Linked DNA regions of Homo sapiens: region 2 is linked to region 1. Evidence: promoter capture Hi-C in 16 types of primary human blood cells and fetal thymus (Javierre and others, 2016). All regions are on one chromosome and are shown on one strand. Each heading gives the region's core, a stretch centred on a gene start or on the middle of the fragment in contact. The rest is flanking DNA. Distances are from core to core; before and after follow the strand shown.

Region 1 (5,674 bases), core at 2,285-4,784:
ATCTCAGCAAAGATGCAGCCCAGGCTCCAGATGTCCACAGCTGTGGAATAATATTTGCAGCCCAGGAGGATTTCAGGAGCTCGGTACCACAGGGTCACCACCTGAGGGACGGGAATAGGGAGGGGCGGGGTGGTTTATAGGGTATGGAAATTCCCGCATCTCAGTTCCTCAACACTACTCTGCTTACTCTTGGCCTCTTAACAAGCAGTTTCCTTCCCTCCATCATCTTTCCCCTCCCACTGATTTCCAGTCCATAGTTCTGGACTGAACCCCTAATTTGAGATCTTCCTGGAAAAACTTGAGACAAATTGGTCATAATTTTATTTCTAAATTTTTTCTTTTTGTAGATTTGTAGAGATGGGGTCTCGCTATGTTGCCCATGATGGTCTCGAACTCCTGGGCTCAAGTGATCCTCCCACCTCAGCCTCCCAAAGTATTGGTATTACAGGTGTGGGCCCAGTTAGCAACACAGTATGAATTCCATGCATACCCTAAGACTCTTTAGGATGTCAAGAGATTATTTCTACCTAGTAAGAAACTGTTAGCCAGATATTTTTAGTAACTTTGTGAATACCCTAGTTAACACCTCTTGGGAAGCTCAGAGAAAAAAGACATAAAGGGACTCACCTCATGGGTGTAAGTACGAACAGGGACTCCAAAAGCTCTGGCTAGTCCAAAGTCTGCTAGCTTGATGGCCCCCTCTGTGTTAATAAGCAGATTCTGAGGTTTAAGGTCTCGGTGGAGGACCCGATGAGAATGGCAGAAAGCTAGGCCCTGGAGCAGCTGGAACAGATAGCTCTGACAAAGGAGAAAGAGAGGACTGTGTTTCTCCATTACAGTGAGCAGACTGGGTTTGCTCTGTGCCCCTAAAACTCTACTAAAGCCTTTATTATGTTGGATTATAGTTACATATTTACAAGCTATTTCTCCCAATGGACTGTCAGCCCAGAGAGGATAAGGACCAAGTCTTACTCAATTTTCCATCCCTTTTCTACATCCTGTGCATTGAAAAAATGTTTGTTAATAGATTGAAAGTAGCTCTGGGAGTGAAGAATCCAGCCCTAAAATAGACAATAGGGACTCACTAGCTAGGTCTTCCACCAAATGGAAGGGCTTTTTGGAGGAATTTACCAAGTGCTCTCAAATCCCGTTTATCTGAGTTTCATCTGACCTCCCACCTGAGTTGCTAGGTTGACTCACTAGAGTTTCAACTTTGATTGTTCAGTCCAACCCTAGGGTTAATGAATATAATGAGCAGGGAAGGAGACACAAAAAGAAGGGGAGTGTGTGTGTATAGGAGATGAGGGCTCAGAAGGAGGCCAAAATCATAAAATATCACCCTGAATTGCCTGCCACCAGTCCCCCAAGACATGCCCATGATGAGAGGAGCTGATGAGAAGCATTACCTTGATGAGGGGAAGAGGAATGCCAGTGAGAGCAGAGGCATCCATGAATTTCTTGAGATCTTGGTGCAGAAATTCAAAAACCAGGTAGAGTTTATTTTCTGTGTGAATGACATCCAGCAGCCTAGAGAAGGAAAGTTTGAGGAAATGGAGGTGTGTGAGAGAGAGAAATGCCCACACTGTACAGACAGAACTTATCCTCCTTTCCAGCTGGATCACCTCTCAGACGCATACTTACTTGACAATATTAGGATGGTTAAGCTCCTTAAGCAGAGAGATCTCTCGGATGGCAGTACTGGGCACACCCTCAGTCTCACTTGGAGAGGTTGGGAAAGCAGAGATGGGAATATGGTTACAAATATTCCTTTCCCCCCCACCTAGTCATTTCTTTCCCCCAAGGAGACACCACCCAGCACCCCCTAGGAAAGTGAGAGAAGAGAAAGGGTGATGGTAAGAGCTAATTCTTGGGTAGTCAGGGTGTGGTTTTTGGATATATTAAGGCCATTATCTCCTCTTTTCCCAGGGGTAGGTAAGTAAAGCCGCCTGGTGAAGGTGAAGCAGGGAGACTGTAATGGAGGGGAAAAAATGCAGGAGTAGCCCCCAGCCTCCCCAGAGGGGCCAGTGAGGTTCAACTGCCATTCTTTGGAAAGAGGAGAGAATTCTAAGGTGAGGGTGGGGCAGTGAAGAGGGCTCTTCATTCAGAAAGGCGATTCTCGCCGGTTCCCACATAACTCCACTCCATGGAGAGTCTTGGACCTCATCTCAGAGACCTCCTTTCTCTCCCCGAGTCTGTAGTCGCACATTTGGGGGCACGATCCGGCTCAGTTTGGGAAGAAAGTTTTCCATGGATTCCACACCACCCTATACTCTCCCCAGGGAGTATAAGTATACTCTTCACCTTCTACTGGCCCCCAACCCACCTCTCCACTTCTAAAGAAGTCCCTCCCTGCTCTCTTCCGGTCCCTGGACGGCTACCCGCCCGTGGGGGGTTGGGGGGGACAATCAAGGAGGTCCCCAGTTAGGAGTCCCGGGTACAGAGGCCACTCACGTGTCCAGGCGGATTTTCTTAAGCGCCACCACCTCTCCCGTCAACTTGTTTCTGGCTTTGTACACAACTCCGTACGTGCCCTCTCCGATCTTTTCCACCTTTTGGAAGTTCTCCATGAAGCGCCAGCGAGTCGGGTCAGCCCGGCCCTGGAGCGGGGGCCTGGGAACCCTGCAGAAGGCGGACCCTGGCTCTCGGGGGCCGAGGAGGGGGAAACAGGGCCCAGTACCGTGGCCCCGGGTCGGGATGGAACGCAGTATACCTCTCGCTCTTGTCAATTTGGCCAACTTGAAACAATGTTGCCGCCTCCCACCGAGTTCCCGACCGCCACCAGAGGCCCCGCCCCTGCTTCCCGCGTTTCCCTGGCTCCGCCCCCAGGCCTTTCTATTGGTCAACGTCAGAGCCGGGGGGCGAGCCCAGCGCTCCTCCCCGCAAATGATCCCGCCCCAGGCAAGTTTGGTTCTTGGGGGCTAGACAAGTTTCTTCCCCGGTGGGGCGGCTGAACACTCTTCCCAAGTACCTGCTTTGGGTCCAAGTTTCCTACCTATGTCTCTAGTCTGTAGGGATTTCTTGATTTCTAACTCACTATTTTCACCAATCCTGGGGAAAATATGTATCGACCTAAGGTTAAATTCCACCTGGCCCAGGAGCCTCCTTTGGAAACCAGGAAGCCGGGAATCTCGTTGCAAAGGAATCCTGGGCCTCAGAGGAGTCGTTGCCTCTGCCTCATAGCATACCCCGACACTGTCTCTGTTTTGGGATGCAGGGTTCTGTTTCTGTCTTTTTGAGAAGTTCCTGGTTTAATTCACTCTCCCATGATAAACTGTTGTGTCTGGTATGTGTTACGCAGCTGCCTTTCAGTTAGCTCTTGCCCGGGAGTGCATCAAGATGAGAGTGACCCAGTGAAACCAGAAACTGTCATTGAGTAGCAGGATGGGAAAGCAATGTCTAGGGACCAGGATCCCTTTGTCAGTTTTTCCTTTTTCCTCTCCTCCGGCCCCTCCCAGGCCTTCTCTGAGGGAGAAGAGGAAGGGCTATGCAAATGAGCACCCTTTTCTTATATAGGGGCCTATCCCAGTCCCCCCAGTGCCTTTGGTTGCTGGAGGGAAGAACACAATGGATCTGGTGCTAAAAAGATGCCTTCTTCATTTGGCTGTGATAGGTGCTTTGCTGGCTGTGGGGGCTACAAAAGGTATGTGTGGATATGTGGACATGAGCAGGTGTGAACTTGGGGATGAATTCCCCCTGCTCTGGTTTCTGTCCTCCTAATGGGAGATAGCGGCAATATTTCAGGCGTCTCCCACTCATTTGATTTAGTGAGGATGTGGGCACCTGGGCTCCCTCCCTACATGGAGATTTGGGATTTTGCCTGAAAATAATCTCATATGCTTGGAGGGGCAGAAGGATAGAAGGTCTCTGTGGCACTGATTCTGAGGCTTCCTTGGCAGTGAGCTGGAGCACGGGCTCCAAAGGGGTGAAATGTGCAGGAGACTCTTTTAGGAAACGTCTCTTGGGGTAGGAGATTTAAAGTGGGGAGTCAGAGAATGTGGTATTGGGTAAGAACACTAAGGAGATACAATCCTCTCCTCTTGGGATGGGTACGGGTGAACACAGCCCAGACCTTTTGTTCTGGGGCTGGAGAGATAGGCAGAGGGGTCTCAGCTGAGCATCACATGAAAGGGCTCTGGGGGATTGGGCCTCGTGACAGGAGCAAGGGGCGGGGGTGGGGTGGTGAGAGGGTCTGGAATGTCCCGTGCTGCTCTGAGGAGAGTTGGAAGTGGAGAAAGAATGGGGTATCTTATGACTTCTCTTGTTCTAGTGGTGGGATGCTCAATAGATGATTCCAGATCCTCCCCCAGCAGAATCAACTAGGGTTACAGCACACATTAGAAAGGGAATGAGGCCGGGCGCCGTGGCTCACGCCTGTAATCCCAGCACTTTGGGAGGCTGAAGCAGGTGGATCACGAGGTCAGGAGTTCGAGACCAGCCTGGCCAATATGGTGAAACCCCCGTCTCTACTAAAAGTACAAAAATTAGCTGGGCATGGTGGCACATGCCTGTAGTCCCAGCTACTCAGAAGGCTGAGGCTGGAGAATCACTTGAACCCAGAAGGCAGAGGTTGCAGTGAGCCAAGATCACACCAATGCACTCCAGCCTGGGTGACAGAGCGAGTCTCCGTCTCAAAAAAAAAAAAAAAAAGAAAGGGGATGAGGCCCGGCACAGTAACTCATGCCTGTAATCCTAGCACTTTGAGAGGCTGAGACGGGTGGATCACTTGAGGTCAGACCAGCCTGGCCAATATGGTGAAACTCCATCTCTACTAAAAATACAAAAATTAGCTGGGCATGGTGGTACGCACCTGTAATCCCAACTACTTGGGAGGCCGAGGCATGAGAATCGCTTGAACCTGGGAGGCAGAGGTTGCAGTGAGCCGAGATCACACCATTGCATTCCAGCCTGGGCAACAGCAAGACTCTGTCTCAAAAAAATAAAAAAAGAAAAGAAAAGAAAAGAGATAAGGAGGCCGGGTGTAGTGGCTCACACCTGTAATCCCAGCACTTTGGGAGGCCGTGGTCATAGGATTGCTTGAGCCCAGGAGTTCAAGACCAGCCTGAGCAACATAGTGAGACCTTGTCTCTACGAAACGTAAAAAAATTAGCCAGGCCTAGGCCAGGCTTGGTGGCTCACGCCTGTAATCCCAGCACTTTGCGAGACCAAGGCAGGTGGATCAGCTGAAGTTGGGAGTTTGAGACCAGCCTGACCAACATAGAGAAACCCAGTCTCTACTAAAAATACAAAATTAGCTGGGCGTGGTGGTGCATGCCTGTAATCCCAGCCACTCAGGAGGCTGAGGCAGGAGAATCGCTTGAACCCGGGAGGCGGAGGTTGTAGTAAGCTGAGATCGTGCCATTGTACTCCAGCCTTCCAGCCTGGGCAACAAGAGCGAAACTCTGTCTCAAAAAAAAAAAAAAAAAAAATTAGCCAGGCTTGGTGGTGAGCACCTGTGGTCCTAGCCACTTGGGAGGCTAATGAGGAAGATGGCTTCAGCCTAGGAGTTTGAGGCTGCAGTGAGTGATGAACGTGCCACTGCACGCAGGGTGAGAGAGCAAAACCCTGTATCAAAAGGAAAGGAAAGGGGAAAGGGAAAGGAAAGGGAAGGAAGTTTCTGCAGGAAAGGGAAAAATGGGGTGAGGGTAGTTTTTGCTGTGCTGAACTATATACAGAA
Region 2 (5,179 bases), core at 1,755-4,254, 240 kb after region 1:
TTCCCTTCCTCACTCCAGCCCATCTTAGGTACTGTCTTCTGGGGCCCTGGGCTTGTCACCCTCAGTCCCCTCCTCAGTGTGGGGAGTGGGCAGGTTCCACATGGCCTGGGCACTCTTGTAACATCCTGTTCACCCTCAACCCTGCCCTGGGTGCCCCACCCACCTCCTAGCAGGCTTATGCAGGACTGGCCTTTCTGGTACTTGTTTCCCTTCATGTGCCCCTGTGTGGGCCTGGCTACTCACACTTGGTGAGGAAGGCCCCCCCATAGTGGGCCTGTGTGGCAGGAGGCAGCCGTGCCCAGCAGGCCTGCAGGGTTTTCTCCAGACTCTCCAGGTTGGTCACAGGGGTTCGGAAGAAGCCAGGCTCCACGATGGAGACTCGTATCCCAAAATGAGCTACATCCCGCCTAGAGTCGGGGCAGAGCGAAGTTGCTGGGTTCTTGCCCTATAGGGAGGGGACTTTGAGGGACATGGGTTGGGGAGCTGAGAAAGTTACCACAGACCAGGGACAAGAGTTTTGACGGAGATGCCTACTGCCCCGGGACAAGGGTCAAGTGGGGTAGAGGGAGGAAAGTATTTTTGAGGTTTGTTTTCTTTGATCTAGAGCAGGGGTCAGCACGTTTTTTTCTTAAAGGGCCAGAGAGTTAATATTTTAAGCATGGCAGGCCAAGAAACAAAATTAATGATATTATCAGGTACTTATATAACAGTTTACAATGTAACCATTTAAAAATAAAAAAAACCATTATCAGCTTGTAGGCAGCTGGCCAGATCTGGCTTGAGTACTGAGTTTGCCGATTCCTGACCTAGAGGAACCCCATTCCCTTGCTCCCAAAACACATGGTTGAGCCCTGAGTGCTGGATATTGAAGGGTATAGTCTCGTATTTGCTGGAGGGTAAGCTGATGGGGAAAGTGGGGATACATCCCACTGCCCTGGCACAGATGTAGAAATCCAAGTATAGGTAAGGAGCAGGAGGGAAGGGGATAAAAAAAAATTCAAGTATAAAGTATGTGTTCCAGTATGCAGTGGCTCACACCTATAATCCCAACACTTTGGGAGGCCCAGGCGGAAGCATCGCTTGAGGCCGGGAGTTGGAGACAAGTCTGGTCACCACAGCAAGACCCCATCTGTAAAAAAATACTAGCCAGGCATGCTGGCACGCGCCTGTGGTCTCAGCTACTCAGGAGGCTGAGGCGGATATCGCTTGAGCTGCTTGAGCCTAGGAGTTTGAAGTTCAGTGGGCCGTGACTGCACCACTGCACTCCACCCTGGGTGAGAGCAAGGCCTTGTCTCAAAACTAAAAGTATGTGTCCCATGATGCTGCCTGAAAAATTAAGGCTGAGAGACAGGAGACATTCAGGTTATTTGCTGAGTGATGGTGACAAACGCAGGCTTCCTTAGAAGGTAGACTAAGCTTAGGCGCCTTATACTCCTGCTAAGAACTCAGGCCTTGGGCCGTGTGTGGTGGCTCATGCCTGTAATCCCAGCACTTTGGGAGGCCGGGTCGGGTGGATCACCTGAGGTCAGGAGTTCAAAACCAGCCTGGCCAACATGGTATAACTCCATCTCTACTAAAAATACAAAAAAATTAGCTGGGAGTGGTGGCACGTGCCTGTAAGCCCAGCTAATCGGGAGGCTGAGGCAGGAGAATCACATGAACCTGAGAGGCAGGGGTTGCAGTGAGCTGAGATCTCGCCATTGCACTCCAGCCTAGGCAACAAGAGCAAAACGCTTAAAAAAAAAAAAACAAAAAAAAACTCAGGCCCTACTCCCGTTGTCCTCATCATGTCTCCTTTGTGCTCCCACGGAACTTTGAACCTTATTGTTTAAAGACGAGAGGCAAGGCCGGGCGTGGTGGCTCACACCTGTAATCCCAGCACTTTGGGAGGCTGAGGTGGGCGGATCACGAGGTCAGGAGTTTGAGACCAACCTGGCCAACATAGTGAAACCCTGTCTCTACTAAAAATACAAAAATAAGCCAGGCATGGTGGCGCATGCCTGTAGTCCCAGCTACTCGGGAGGCTGAGGCAGGAGAATCGCTTGAACCCCGGGGGTGGAAATTGTGGTGAGCCAAGATCGCGCCACTGCACTCCAGCCTGGCGACAGAGCAAGACTCCATCTCAAAAAACAAAAAACAAACACGTTAAAAATGGGTAAAGAGAAGTAATCTACTTATGGTCACAAAGCTTACATAAGGGTAGACTTCATTGAACCCATGAAGTCTAGCCCTAAACTGTCTCTTCTTAACTATTCCAATGTGCTGTATCTTAACCACCTCTGCTGGCCCACGTTTGTTGAGTGGGCTGCTGTTAGTCCTGGAACCCAGAGCCCTGTACCCCTCACCTCAGGCTGTCAGAGAAGGCCTCCAGGCCAAATTTGGAGACACAGTAGCCCCCACCATTGGCTGCCAGGCGACCCAGGACGCTGGTGATGTTGATCACCCGGCCCCGGGCTTGCTGCAGCAGAGGCAGCAGGGCAAGGGTGACCCCGATGGGACCCATTGTGTTCACATTCAGCACCCGCTGGAAATCGTCCCGGGTCAGCCATGGTGTGGGTCCGATGATACCAGCCACACCAGCATTATTCACCAGACCAAAAAGCCCTGTGGGGAGATGAAAAGGATGCTGGGGGTAGGTGAGGCACTCCCACAGCTCCCTCTTCTTCCTGGGAGCATCTGAAAACTGCTTCTCCTCAAATTGTCCCTTTAGCTTACCACAGCCCTTGCAGGTGACTCCTGGGGTGACTGTGGGGATCAGGACACCCCACACCATATTCCTGGTGGTCTACCATACTTACCTGCTTCCTTAACGTGCATCTCCACCCACTTGGCTGCCTGCTGGACGCTCTGGGGATCAGTGATATCCAACAGGGTGGTGTGGAGGCGGGAGGAGGCCACCCGCTGCAGGTCCTCGGCCCCGGAGGGGGTCAGGCAGCTGGCCAGGACTCGGAAGCCTCTCTGGTCCAGCTGCAGTGCCAGAAGGCGCCCAAAGCCTGAGTCACAGCCGGTGATGAAGACAAAGGCATTGCTGGCGGGCAGGCTCTGCCGGTCCCTGAGCAACCACAGCACTGCCCAGAGTAAGGCACCCAGCAGAAGAGGCAGCCACATAGCTGGAGCCCAAGTGACCTACAGGTGGCAGCCTAGGCTGGGCAGAAAAACTTGTCCAGTTTACTGTGGCCCTCAAGCCCTTTCCCCTAATACCCTCCCTAGCTGGAAGCATCTGGTGTGAGCATATTGAGAAATTATCTGGTTGGCAGATAATTGGCCAACCATGGCTCATCTGTTCAAAGCAAAGATGTGGGCAGACCCTGTATTTGTGGCTAACTTAACTAAAACCACATGAGCCAGATCCTGTGTACAGACCTGCTGTATGGAGCAGAGGCATCTTTTTTTTTTTTTTTTTTTTTTTGAGATGGAGTCTCACTCTGTCGCCCAGGCTGGAGTGCAGCAGAGGCATCTTCTTGCTTGCCTCACACCACCTCTCCTTCTAAACCAGGGACACTGAACCTTCTATATGCAACCTGGGTCTTGTGTTTGGAATGATGTATAGGGCCAAGAGGTTTGCTGTGTGATACTGAGCATCTCACTGTCTCTCTCAACCTATTTTCTCATCTACCAAGTGGGGCTAAGACCCACCAGGTCCACCTCAGAGTTGTGGAGGATCAAAGGGGATAATGTGTGAGGAAGCATGTTAAAAGCTGAAAGTTTTGAGTTGGCAATACATGTAATATCTGGCTAGTCTTCTCAGTTCCCCCAGCTCCCAGTATCCACTTACCTCCTGTGGCGAAAGCTGGCAGGTACTACAGCGCCCGAAGCTTATTCTTTTGCTTTTGTTTAAGAGACTGCTCCCAGTCTTCCCAGCCTCCCACACTAACTACTGCTAAGGCCAAAGTCCGGAGTGGGTGGACTTGGATGCCAGGCGTATTAAGTGTATGTGTGACAGGGTGGGGATAGGACTGAGGAGGAGGAGGAGCCAGGGAGGCTGGAGCTTGCCTGGCTGAAGCCAGGACTTGGCAGAGGCCAGATTTGCCTAGGCTCCCCCCACCCCTTGGCTGTCTTTCTCAGCCTGGGTTCCTGACCATCTATGTCATGGTCTCCAAGGAGGAGGGAGCTGTCAAGGATGGCAGCTGCACTGCTCTGTTGGTAACGGTTACTGGACCTGTCATTCCTCCCCCTTCTCAGCCCTGAAGTGCCCCCAGGAATTAATCTCCCACCTGGCTCAGACTCATGACACTGCTTAGAGTTAGCCTGGGAGAGGCCATGAGCACGTGGAGAGGCAGAAAGCCAGAGCTGGGGACCAGGCCTGTACCTTGCCTTGTTTCTCTTCTGTAGGAAACAAGTCCTGAATTAGGAAGCTTGGGGCAGGGCTACTAGGACCTTCTCTCAGGAGGGATGGGAACTCCCACCCTCTGCTTGCCTAACAGACACCTGCACAAGGGCCATGGAGGAGAAGAGAGTTGGGATAGTAAGAGGAAGCTAGTTCCACCCTCTCCCCAAAAGGTACCTGTCCCTCAGGGAAACCACCTTTGAACCTTCCACTCCCACCCCCGACACTGGAGCTAGTAGCTCTCTGAAACACACCACAGAGAAACGGAGGCTTGTGTTTTATTCAAGGCTTGTCAGCCTCCCTCCTTCCCCCTGCGGGTGAGGTAGGAGGGATAGGGTTGGGGGAGGGAACAGGGGCTAGGAAGGGGCAGACTGCAGCTGCCCTTTGTAGACATATTCCAGTGCAGTGGCAATGGTGCGCATGTCCAGCTCGATGCTCCGAGCCCAGTTCTCCACATCCCCAATTTCCTGGGAAGGGGGAGAGGAGGTGGGAGCCCAGGAATCAGAATGGGTAGAGTATGGCTTCCAGTCTGGGGAATACGTTTTATTCATCTCCTGGAAAAGGCTTTACTTGGACCCACCAACTGCTTTTCTTTCTTTCTCTACCTTTTCTGACACTGGGGCTATAGATGGGGTTTCTGGGACCACCCTACTTCCTCCTTAACCTAAACCTGAGGTAACCTGACTGGAGGCAGCCAATGGGGGCCCAGGATTGGGGTGGTGAGGTAGGGAGTATGGCCCACCTTGAGTGCCTGGTTGAAGTTCTCCACCATTCCGATCCACTGGCCTGTCTGCTTGGCAAATTGGGCAGCCTGGACCTGTAGGGTCTTCACCTCATGGTCCAGCTTTCTCT

What was found. The method cuts DNA at HindIII sites, captures the fragments that hold promoters and counts their contacts. A CHiCAGO score of 5 or more calls a contact.
Region 2: a contact is called between a fragment that was not itself captured here and the fragment with the promoter of PMEL in region 1, in 7 of 17 cell types (naive CD4 T cells, naive CD8 T cells, activated CD4 T cells and 4 more). The highest score is 7.9, in naive CD4 T cells.

Annotation. Positions count from the first base shown.
Region 1 is chr12:55,963,902-55,969,575 of GRCh38, reverse strand. It overlaps PMEL (premelanosome protein), which reads left to right and starts at 3,534. Exons shown (of 11, transcript NM_001384361.1): 1 at 3,534-3,640. The coding sequence starts at 3,565. CDK2 (cyclin dependent kinase 2) reads right to left here and starts at 2,746. Exons shown (of 7, transcript NM_001798.5): 1 at 2,452-2,746; 2 at 1,642-1,719; 3 at 1,407-1,527; 4 at 628-798; 5 at 1-101. The coding sequence starts at 2,567. RefSeq lists an enhancer at 2,976-3,055. The HindIII fragment of the contact is 16,386 bases long and covers 1-5,674 here.
Region 2 is chr12:55,719,114-55,724,292 of GRCh38, reverse strand. It overlaps RDH5 (retinol dehydrogenase 5), which reads right to left and starts at 3,900. Exons shown (of 5, transcript NM_002905.5): 1 at 3,776-3,900; 2 at 2,799-3,140; 3 at 2,346-2,604; 4 at 244-407. The coding sequence starts at 3,108. BLOC1S1-RDH5 (BLOC1S1-RDH5 readthrough) reads right to left here. Exons shown (of 6, transcript NR_037658.1): 3 at 5,070-5,179; 4 at 2,346-2,604; 5 at 244-407. It overlaps BLOC1S1 (biogenesis of lysosomal organelles complex 1 subunit 1), which reads right to left. Exons shown (of 4, transcript NM_001487.4): 3 at 5,070-5,179; 4 at 4,590-4,794. The coding sequence ends at 4,684. It also overlaps a transcript of CD63 not described here. RefSeq lists an enhancer at 2,837-3,465. The HindIII fragment of the contact is 1,627 bases long and covers 2,191-3,817 here.